Regions from separate parts of the Homo sapiens genome. Here all the other regions are linked to region 2. Evidence: promoter capture Hi-C in 16 types of primary human blood cells and fetal thymus (Javierre and others, 2016). All regions are on one chromosome and are shown on one strand. The core of a region is centred on a gene start or on the middle of the fragment in contact, and the rest is flanking DNA. Distances in the headings are between cores, read along the strand shown.

The links. The method cuts DNA at HindIII sites, captures the fragments that hold promoters and counts their contacts. A CHiCAGO score of 5 or more calls a contact.
Region 1: a fragment that was not itself captured here is called in contact with the fragment with the promoter of CKM in region 2 in 2 of 17 cell types (total B cells and total CD4 T cells); the score reaches 5.7 in total B cells.
Region 3: a fragment that was not itself captured here is called in contact with the fragment with the promoter of CKM in region 2 in 1 of 17 cell types (total CD4 T cells); the score reaches 5.0 in total CD4 T cells.
Region 4: a fragment that was not itself captured here is called in contact with the fragment with the promoter of CKM in region 2 in 2 of 17 cell types (total B cells and erythroblasts); the score reaches 5.9 in total B cells.

Annotation. Positions count from the first base shown.
Region 1 is chr19:44,662,193-44,664,896 of GRCh38, reverse strand. It overlaps PVR (PVR cell adhesion molecule), which reads right to left. Exons shown (of 8, transcript NM_006505.5): 8 at 1-2,704. Among named protein-coding and RNA genes, the nearest start is that of CEACAM19, 7.9 kb to the left of the region's middle. The HindIII fragment of the contact is 240 bases long and covers 1,335-1,574 here.
Region 2 is chr19:45,321,454-45,324,206 of GRCh38, reverse strand. CKM (creatine kinase, M-type) reads left to right here and starts at 1,332. Exons shown (of 8, transcript NM_001824.5): 1 at 1,332-1,386. RefSeq lists an enhancer at 366-608. The HindIII fragment of the contact is 13,711 bases long and covers 1-2,753 here.
Region 3 is chr19:44,798,821-44,801,520 of GRCh38, reverse strand. CBLC (Cbl proto-oncogene C) reads right to left here. Exons shown (of 11, transcript NM_012116.4): 10 at 1,071-1,140; 11 at 869-970. The coding sequence ends at 1,078. Among named protein-coding and RNA genes, the nearest start is that of BCAM, 8.9 kb to the left of the region's middle. RefSeq lists an enhancer at 1,034-1,083. The HindIII fragment of the contact is 9,209 bases long and covers 1-2,700 here.
Region 4 is chr19:44,707,582-44,710,281 of GRCh38, reverse strand. CEACAM16 (CEA cell adhesion molecule 16, tectorial membrane component) reads right to left here. Exons shown (of 7, transcript NM_001039213.4): 6 at 2,095-2,421. The region is part of intron 1 of CEACAM16-AS1 (CEACAM16, CEACAM19 and PVR antisense RNA 1); the gene reads left to right. Among named protein-coding and RNA genes, the nearest start is that of CEACAM16, 9.8 kb to the right of the region's middle. The HindIII fragment of the contact is 7,361 bases long and covers 1-2,700 here.

The DNA.
Region 1 (2,704 bases), core at 205-2,704, 660 kb after region 2:
GTGTCCTACACTCAGGTGTTAACATGAGCTAAATGACAGTGTGCATTGGCCAGGCACGGTGGCTTATGCCTATAAATCCCAGTACTTTAGGAGGCCAAGGCGGGAGGATTGTTTGGGCCCAGGAATTTGAGACCAGCCTGGGCAAGATGGCAAGATTCCTTTCTCTAAAATAAAAAAAAAAAAAAGTAAAATAAATGACAGTGTGTAAAGTTATTCACTACAACATTGTAATAGTGAAAGGCTGGAAAGGATACAAATGCCTGTCCTTAGAGGCCTCGTTAAAAAAGCCCTGTACAGCCCTCCCATGGAATATGAGGTGGGTGTAGAACAACTCAGGAGGCATTCTCTGAATTACCAGAAACTGAGCAAAAAAAGTAAGGTTCAGGGTGGGCGCGGTGGCTCACATCTGTAATCCTAGCGCTTTGGGAGGCCAAGGCAGGAGGAGCACTTGAGCCCAGGAGTTCCAGCCCAGCCTAGGCAACATAGCGAGATGCCTATCTCTACAAAAGTTAAAAAGAGATTTAGCCAGGTGGGGTGGCGCCCACCTATAGTCCCAGCTACTCGGGAGGCTGAGATGGAAGGATAGCCCGAGCCCAGCAGGTCGAGGCTGCAATGAGCCATGATCACGCCACTGCACTCCAGCCTGGGCAACAAAGTGAGACTCTTATTTCTAAAATAAATAAATAAATAAACAAATAAATAAATAAATAAAGTGCACTATTCAATGGTTTTTTGGTATAATTAATTTTCAAAAATGGTGGTTAAAAAGAGATAACAGACAATTTGCCATTTTAGCTATTTTTGAGTGTATGATTCAGTGGCATTCATTACATTCACAGTGTTGTGTAAAACTGGATATCCATGTGCAGAAGAATGGAGCTGGACCATTACACTCCAAACACAAATTAGAATGGATCCCTCATGTCTTTTTATCTTCTAATTTTGGGACGTTTATGTACTATCTAATTAAAAAAATTAGCTTAGCATGGTGAGGGGCAGCTGTGGTCACAGCTACTTGGTAGGCTGAGGTGGGAGGATTGCTTGAGCCCCGGAGTTAGAGGCTGCAATGAGCTATGATCGTGCCATTGCACTCCAGCCTGGGTGACAGGAGACACCGTCCCTTAAACATTTTTTTTGGAGAGGAAAAAAAAAAAGACAAGCTGTTCCTAAGGTGCCTGGGAATCCCAGCCCTTATGGCCCTCTTCATTTAGCGTCTTGCTTCCATGCCTCTGGTTCCATCCCACGTGGTGACAGTACACATGAAACCTGTCTGCTCCTTGATTTCCACAAAAGACCCCATTGCACACAGCCGCTGGAGGTACAATAAATAAGCTTTAATGAGATTCTGGGTGCTGGAGACAGACAAGGAGCTTACGTGCCACCAAAGCAACCAATGTTCCTTTATCTCCCCAACTCTGTGGGGTCCCACTGGCCTCCTCACCCTTGAGCCCTTTGCCCCTGCCATCCTGCTGGTTCCTATCTCTTCCCCACACTTCTCTGTTCCCGGCTCTTCCATCTCTGTCCAGAGCAAATCCTCTGTCCTGCTTATTTTCTCTTGCAGAGCAGCTCAAGCTTTGCATTCCCATTTAGCATCTTGGCCCAAGGTCTTCTCTCCCTCAACGTATTTTCCCAAACAGTTTTCTTTATAAGAGGAATTCTGCTGTCTGCCCTCAAGATCATAGACCTTTTTAACTTGTCAGTTGCACTGAGCAGCTGGGCCTCCTGGGTCTTGGGTCGCATCCATCTTGGTCCTATAGGAGCGTGTCCTGAGCAACTGCAGCGCTGCCTCCCCCTGCATCCCTTCCCCCTTGTGTTGGAAATTGCATTTGCTTCTTTTGTGGGTTATTTCCTGCCAGTCCCAGCTTGCTGGCTGCAGATGCTGGCAGAAAGTGGCTGCAGATGCTGGCAGAAAGTGGCTGCAGCTGACAACCTTCTTCAAGTTCACATCTAGTAGTTTTCTCTGCTCCTTGGACACCCCCCAGGCAGCTGCTTGCGGCCTGAATTGCAGCCTCTGGTGACCAGGGTCAGTGGCTGTTTCTTGTAACCACAGAGATCTGACGGATACAGAGATTTAGAAGCTCAAGGCCAGAGGCCAAATTTTTACCAAAATTCTCTGGTGGCCCACACCCTTCTGTGTGGTCTGCTATGCAGTAAAGGCTTAACCTTGCCCAAAGAAAGATCGGGCCCTTTATCCTCAGCTCCTGGGCATTCATCTCTAAGCCCTTGGAATATCCTGCCTGGTAGCTGATCTTGGAGTCTTGGGCCACTCTGGGTGGTTCATGCTAATGATGTGATTTATGGTGGGGGTCTTGGGCCACACGGTATTGGCTTGATGTATGAGGTCAGCCGTGTGGATGGTGAGCTGCTTAATTCAGCACTTTGGGAGGCCAAGGCAGAAGTATCACTTGGAGCCAAGAGTTCAAGACCAGCCTGGGCAACACAGGGAAACCTCGACTTTACAAATAATAAAAAGATTAGCCAGACGTGGTGGCACATACCTGTAGTCATAGCTACTCAGGAGGCTGAGGTGGGAGGATGACTTGGCGTTGAGAAGTCAAGGCTGCAATGAACTGTGATCTCACCACTGTACTCTAGTCTGCCAACAGAGCCAGACCCTGTCTCAAGACAAACAAAAAACTCTGGACACAAAGATCTCGAGTGAGCTGCTCTGGTTGGCAGTATTGGCAGTACTTCTTGCATGTTG
Region 2 (2,753 bases), core at 83-2,582:
CCCCTCTCCCCTCCCCCCTCAGATCAGGAGTCTGAGGGAGAGGCACAGAGGCTCCCTTTCTCTAAGCCAGTCCTCACCTGCCTAAGAAGATGTGAAGGAGACCCAGGAGACCCTGGGATAGGGAGGAACTCAGAGGGAAGGGACATTCTTTTCTTCGTCGCAATCCTGGGAGCTCCCTGGAGGAGGAGACCCGATCAGCCTGCAATCCTGGCGCGTCCCAGGAGGAGAAAGCGGCTTCCTCTATACTGTACTCTCCTCCACAGAACCCCCCTCTCAGCCCTGGAAGTCCTTGCTCACAGCCGAGGCGCCGAGAGCGCTTGCTCTGCCCAGATCTGCGCGAGTCTGGCGCCCGCGCTCTGAACGGCGTCGCTGCCCAGCCCCCTTCCCCGGGAGGTGGGAGCGGCCACCCAGGGCCCCGTGGCTGCCCTTGTAAGGAGGCGAGGCCCGAGGACACCCGAGACGCCCGGTTATAATTAACCAGGACACGTGGCGAACCCCCCTCCAACACCTGCCCCCGAACCCCCCCATACCCAGCGCCTCGGGTCTCGGCCTTTGCGGCAGAGGAGACAGCAAAGCGCCCTCTAAAAATAACTCCTTTCCCGGCGACCGAGACCCTCCCTGTCCCCCGCACAGCGGAAATCTCCCAGTGGCACCGAGGGGGCGAGGGTTAAGTGGGGGGGAGGGTGACCACCGCCTCCCACCCTTGCCCTGAGTTTGAATCTCTCCAACTCAGCCAGCCTCAGTTTCCCCTCCACTCAGTCCCTAGGAGGAAGGGGCGCCCAAGCGCGGGTTTCTGGGGTTAGACTGCCCTCCATTGCAATTGGTCCTTCTCCCGGCCTCTGCTTCCTCCAGCTCACAGGGTATCTGCTCCTCCTGGAGCCACACCTTGGTTCCCCGAGGTGCCGCTGGGACTCGGGTAGGGGTGAGGGCCCAGGGGGCACAGGGGGAGCCGAGGGCCACAGGAAGGGCTGGTGGCTGAAGGAGACTCAGGGGCCAGGGGACGGTGGCTTCTACGTGCTTGGGACGTTCCCAGCCACCGTCCCATGTTCCCGGCGGGGGGCCAGCTGTCCCCACCGCCAGCCCAACTCAGCACTTGGTCAGGGTATCAGCTTGGTGGGGGGGCGTGAGCCCAGCCCCTGGGGCGGCTCAGCCCATACAAGGCCATGGGGCTGGGCGCAAAGCATGCCTGGGTTCAGGGTGGGTATGGTGCGGGAGCAGGGAGGTGAGAGGCTCAGCTGCCCTCCAGAACTCCTCCCTGGGGACAACCCCTCCCAGCCAATAGCACAGCCTAGGTCCCCCTATATAAGGCCACGGCTGCTGGCCCTTCCTTTGGGTCAGTGTCACCTCCAGGATACAGACAGCCCCCCTTCAGCCCAGCCCAGCCAGGTACTGCACGGGGCGGGAATCTGGGTGGGGGCCAGAGTAGGGGATTTCTGTGGGTGCTAGAGGCTTGGCTTGGGAAAGGGTCTGTGTGTCACCCCTTGCTCCACCAACATCCTCCTATACAAAGGCAGGTCGGTGCGTGGGAAGGTTGACCCTTGTGTGTCTGGGAGGCCCCTCCATCTGTGAGGCTGCCTGAACCCCCCACTGGGACCTGTGATTTCTGCGGCACAAGTCTTGGGTTATGGGGAGGGATCCGAGATGAAAGGGGTCCTGACAGCTGCCAACTGTCACCCCCTGCAAGGGGCTGTTGAGCCAGGCCTGTGTTCATTACAGTTTGTCGCCAACACTGGCGCCACAAGCCGTGGGAGGTGTGTCTGTCGCCTAGCAGAGTCTGCAAGAGCAGGTGTCGCAGGCTTTCTTTGCGTTTGCTACTGTGTGGGTCCCTGTGACCTTGTTTCTGACTTAGTAGCGGACACATGAGTGTCCTGGGCATGTCCTTGAGTTTGGAAGTGTGACTGTGTGACTTAGTTTACAGTGTGATCTGGGGAGTCTGCGGTGGTGGGGGTGTGTGGCTCTGGGGCTTTCTGCTTATGTCTCTTGTGGGGGGGGTCACCACCCTGCCTCAGTGCCCTCTCCTGGGGTGTCCCTGGCAGGGATTAGGGGGGCATCCTCTGAAGGGAGGGGGTCTGGGCTGCCATCCCAGGATGTCCTTGAGCCCCGAGGCCTGGACCCGTGTCCTCCCAGCCACCCTGGCCCACCTGTCTTGGGCCTGCTGACTTGGTGCAAGCCGAGCCCCGGAATGTGGGGGTGGGGCGGGGCAGCAGCTGGGGGTGGGATGGCAGGCAGTTGCCAGATTCTAAAAATAACCACCCTGGACAGCAGCACCCAAGGTCTTTGGCGGGTCCCTGTTCCTCTTCCCTGGCTTCAGCTCACCGTGGTCCCAATCTCCCTCCCACAATCCCACCTGCTTCCCATCCCCGTCTCCCACCGCTGCTGGAGGCCCCTTCTCCTTTCTGGGTCCCTTCTCCTTTCTGGGTCCAGTGAATAAAATAATAATAACAGTAGGACCTGGCGCAGTGGCTCACACGCATAATCCCAGCATCTTGGGAGGCCGATGCTGGAGGATCACTTGAGGCCAGGAGTCCCAGACCAGCCTGGGCAACATAGTGAGACCCCATCTCTGCAAAAAAGTAGTAATAACAAATAACAATAATAGCAGCCACCAGGGTTCCAGGCTCCAACTCCATGCCAGGGCCTGTGCTCAGCCAACCTCATGGCCAAGCTCAGAGGATCCTGGCAATCCTACGGGGCAGGCTCAGTTCACAGGAGACAGAGGTCCAGAGAGGCCTAGTGACTGGCCTGGGGTCACA
Region 3 (2,700 bases), core at 90-2,589, 520 kb after region 2:
GGGAGGAGGGGCTGGAGTATGGACTCCTGGGTCTGAGGGAGGAGGGGCTGCAGTATGGACTCCTGGGTCTGAGGGAGGAGGGGCTGGGGCCTGGACTCCTGGGTCTGAGGGAGAAGGGGCTGCAGTATGGACTCCTGGGTCTGAGGAAGGAGGGGCTGCAGTATGGACTCCTGGGTCTGAGGGAGGAGGGGCTGGAGTATGGACTCCTGGGTCTGAGGGAGGAGGGGCTGCAGTATGGACTCCTGGGTCTGAGGGAGGAGGGGCTGGGGCCTGGACTCCTGGGTCTGAGGGAGAAGGGGCTGCAGTATGGACTCCTGGGTCTGAGGGAGGAGGGGCTGGAGTATGGACTCCTGGGTCTGAGGGAGGAGGGGCTGCAGTATGGACTCCTGGGTCTGAGGGAGGAGGGGCTGGGGCCTGGACTCCTGGGTCTGAGGGAGAAGGGGCTGCAGTATGGATTCCTGGGTCTGAGGAAGGAGGGGCTGCAGTATGGACTCCTGGGTCTGAGGGAGGAGGGGCTGCAGTATGGACTCCTGGGTCTGAGGGAGGAGGGGCTGGAGTATGGACTCCTGGGTCTGAGGAAGGAGGGGCTGCAGTATGGACTCCTGGGTCTGAGGGAGGAGGGGCTGGAGTATGGACTCCTGGGTCTGAGGGAGGAGGGGCTGGAGTATGGACTCCTGGGTCTGAGGGAGGAGGGGCTGCAGTATGGACTCCTGGGTCTGAGGGAGGAGGGGCTGGAGTATGGACTCCTGAGTCTGAGGGAGGAGGGGCTGGGGCCTGGACTCCTGTTGTTCAGGTGGGGACCAGGCCTGGGGACGGCCCTTTCCCAGTGCCTGCTGCCCTCTGCTGCCCCCTGCTGGCCACTGCACTCTTCCTTTGCACCCTGGAGGACAGACCAGGCTTGGCAGTTTATTTCGGTTTCACAACCCCCTTCCAGCCCTTGGGGCTCCCTTGAGCAGCACATCTGGGTGCCCTGTAGGCGGAGAGAGGGGTGGGTTAGATGAGGTCACCTCCAGGTGGAGGAGGGTGGAGTGGGGTGGAGTGGGCCAGGGAGGGTTAGGGAATGGACTCACCTGGCCTTCAGGCCGGGGCAGGGTCCTGGGGTCCCAGCGCAGCTGGAGGGGAGTTCCCCTTTAGGAGTCTCTGCAATGGAGATATTTTGAGAGGGCGGTTGATTCCCGGCATCCAATCTTTCCCTCTGCCCCTCTTCCCTGTCCCCTTTGTCTTAGACCTGGGAGTCCCAGACCACCTGGGGGCTGGAGGTGGCTTCCTGCGCGGCTGAGGCCACAGCCTTAATTCTTGGCAAGAGAAGAGGGGCCCGAAGTCTGGGGAGGGCCAAAAGTGCCTGGGGGGAGGAGATGAAGAAATGTCTCTGCTAGGCTGCAGCCTGGGTGGACGTCCTTTCACAGGCCCTGGACAGGGGTGACACAGTGGTGGCGGCCACCATCTGACAGGACCTTTGGCCTTGTCCCTAGTCCATGCTGCCTTTTCCCTCTCACCTCTAACTCGTGTAGGATGAAGTTTCAGTTTGTCTGTCCGCCTGTCCATCCATGTGTCCACCCTTCTGCTCACTTGTGTGCCCCACAGACAGTTCCCAAGCCTCTCCAGTGGGTCAGGCCCTTTCTTTCTTTTATTCTCTTTTCCTTTTCTCTTTCTTTTTTCTTCTTTTTCTTTCTTTTCTTTTCTTTCTTTCTTCTTTCTCTCTCGCTCTCTCCTTCCTTCCTTCTTTCTTTTTTCTCTTTCCCTCCCTCCCTTTCTTTCTTTTTCTATTTCTCTCTCTTTCCTTTCTCTCTCCCTCCTTCTTTCTCTCCCTTTCTTTCTCTCTCTCTTTCTTTACTTTTCTTTCTTTTTTAAAAACAACAACAACAACAACAACAAACCGAAAAAACAGGGGCCACGCGCGGTGGCTCACACCCGTAATCCCAGCACTTTGGGAGGCCGAGGTGGGTGGATCACCTGAGGTCAGGAGTTTGAGACCAGCCTGGCCAATATGGTGAAACCCTGTCTCTATGAAAAATACGAAATTAGCCAGGGGTGGTGGCACATTCCTGTAATTCCAGCTACTTGGGAGGCTGAGGCAGGAGAATCGTTTGAACCCAGGAGGTGGGGATTGCCATAAGCCAAGATTGCACCACTGCACTCCAGCCTGGGCAACAAGAGCGAAACTGTCTCAAAACAAAACAAAGCAAAACAGGGTCTCGCTCTGTTGCCTCGTCTGGAGTGCAGTGATGGGACCATAGCTCACTGCAGCCTTGACCTCCTGGGCTTAAACCATCCTCCTGCCTCAGCCTCCCAAAGTGCTGGGATTACAGGCATGAGCCACCGCGCCAGGCCAAGGCCCTGTTTTTCGCTCTGAGAAGACAGCTGTGAACAAGACAGAAAACTATCTTTGTCCTGGTGGAGCTGATGCTCCACTGAACCCGAGGCTCGCAGTGACTGATCAGCTCCTGAACAAGGAAATGTCCCAGAGCAAGTTCCATGTCCTTCAAAGTGCCTGGGAGAGGGAAGATGCCGGGGAGGCCTCTTGGAGATGGGAATGACCCAGCTGATGCCTGAGTGCAAGAAGGATCCAGACAGAGGCTCCGAGTGAGTGGAGGCTTGCTGGCAAGTTAGAAGAGCAGCAAGGGTCCAATGTTGCCGGAAAGGAGGTGGAGTAGGGGAGATCAGAGAGGTGGGGAAGAGTCAGATCCCCAGCCCCAGGTC
Region 4 (2,700 bases), core at 136-2,635, 610 kb after region 2:
TGAAAAGGAATCCCAAGGCTTTGCCGGGGTGGCCTGCTGCCACTGAACAGCATTCTCCCCTAACACTGACCCAGAAAACCAGGGTTTGATCAGTGACTGGATGAAAGTGGGTGACTGGCAGTGGTTGAGTCCTTGATCCTGGAAATTTCCAGTGATAGGGGAGGCACCATCCCGGACTCAGGGACATGGCTTCTGAGAATGCTCTGTCTGCTGGGGGAGGCAAGATTCCAGACTTGGGGAATGATCTCATCCCCAGTGTCTGAGAGCTAATGGGGGAAACCTGGCCCTGCTGTAGGGACATGGACTCAGACCTCTGGGGATGCTCAGTCAGATGGAGGATACATGGACCCTGACTCTGGGAGCTCCCAGTCTGATGGAGGAGACATAGACCCTGACTCTGGGATCTCCCAGTCTGATGGAGGAGACATGGTCCCTGACTCTGGGAGCTCCCAGTCTGATGGAGGAGACATGCTCCCTGACTCTGGGAGCTCCCAGTCTGATGGAGGAGACATGGTCCCTGACTCTGGGAGCTCCCAGTCTGATGGAGGAGACATGGTCCCTGACTCTGGGAGCTCCCAGTCTGATGGAGGAGACATGGTCCCTGACTCTGGGAGCTCCCAGTCTGATGGAGGAGACATAGACCCTGACTCTGGGAGCTCCCAGTCTGATGGAGGAGACATGGACCATGCCTCTGGGAGCTCCCGGTCTGATGGAGGAGACATAGACCCTGACTCTGGGAGCTCCCGGTCTGATGGAGGAGACATGGTCCCTGACTCTGGGAGCTCCCAGTCTGATGAAGGAGACATGGTCCCTGACTCTGGGAGCTCCCAGTCTGATGAAGGAGACATGGTCCCTGACTCTGGGAGCTCCCGGTCTGATGGAGGAGACATAGACCCTGACTCTGGGAGCTCCCAGTCTGATGGAGGAGACATGGTCCCTGACTCTGGGAGCTCCCAGTCTGATGGAGGAAACATGGTCCCTGACTCTGGGAGCTCCCAGTCTGATGGAGGAGACATGGACCCTCACTCCTGGAGTTCCCAGTCTGACGAGGGAGACATAGTCCCTGACTCCGGGAGCTCCCAGTCTGATGGAGGAGACATGGACCATGCCTCTGGGAGCTCCCAGTCTGATGAAGGAGACGTGGTCTCTGCCTCTGGGAGCTCCCAGTCTGACGGAGGAAACATGGTCTATAACTCTGGGAGCTCTCAGTCTGATGGAGGAGACCTGGATCTTGACTCTGGGAGCTCCTAGTCTGATGGAGGAGGCATAGTTTCTGACTCTAGAAGCTCCCAGTTGATGGGGAGACACGGTTCCCAACATCTGAGAGCTCCCAGTCTGAGGGAGGTGACATGGTCTCCAACACTTGGGAATTCCCAATCCAATGGGGGAGACATTGTTCCTGACTTCTAAGAGCTCCCAGTCTGATGGGGAGACATGGTCCCCAACATCTGGGAACTTCCATTCTGTGAGGAGACACAACTTCCACACCTACAGGCCTCCATCCTAATGGAGCAATCATCCTTATTTCAGTTTGAAAGAGAAACTCCACCATCTGATGATAGAAACTTTGCCCTCACAATAATAGAAAGGAGGAGACATGATCCCCACTGCACAGGATCTCCCAGTCTGAATAGGGAGGCCTGATTCATCCTTATTCTCTGCCTGCAGTCTGATAGGAGAGGTAAACTCCTATAATTAACCCATTACCCCAATATGGACCCTATGTTTTAGGGTCCACCTGTCTGCAGGAAAAAGGATGCTCCACCATCAGACTATGCCTTCTCTTTTAAAACCTTCAGTGTGCTGTACCTCTTATTTGAGAGAGAAGGCATGGGGGTCCCCTTTAGCAACCCTCAGTCTGATGGAGGAGGCCTGTCTACCCACAGTGTAGGTCATTAGTTTGATAGAAGAGGCAGAACCCTATTTGGGGACCCCCAAGTTAGGCGGAGGAGACAAGGCTGCTTCCTTCAGCCTGATGGGGGATGGGTATCCATCTTTGGTCTATGTCCCCCCAGCCTGATGGAGGAAGCAAAGGCTCCTTTTGGGAGCCCTTGTCTAAAAAGGGGCACGCCTTGCCCCTTCCCACACACTCACGGGCCACCTGCAGCTCCACTTCCAGTGTCTCAGTCTTGCCCTGCACTGTGACAGTCTTGAGTGTGTAGCGGCCAGTGTCTGTGAGGTTCAGCTTCTGCACCAACAGCGAGCAGTTGGGGAAGCCCACCTCCCGGCCTGTGTGCGCGGGGCCTGCAATCCAGGTTCCTGACGGCAGCTGGCTGAGCAGCCGGTTGGGCTCGGAGGCAGGCCCGCGGTACCAGGCGTAGACCAGCAGGTCCTTGGGGTAGCCCTGCACGGTCAGTGTTACGTCCTGGCCCTCCGTTGGCTTGGTGGGCACGGGCACGATCATCGTGGCAACTGCTGCAGCTGGGGAGAGAGCGAGCGGGCTGGGTCAGTTTGGTCTGCATCTGGCATGGTGTCCCCTTCCCAACCCTTGCTGGCCTCCCCCCAGCTGGCTGGCACTCCCCATGTAGGGTGCTGGGAAGGAGACTGAGGAAGGAGGTGACTTGTGCGGTGGTGGAGGTGGATTCTGGGTCCCAGTAGTGTCTGCTGGGGTCTGTGTTTCCCCTATCAGACTACAAATTCCCAGACTTTGAGAGGTGTCTCTCCCATCAAACTGGAAGACCCTAGAGGCTTGGGTCATGT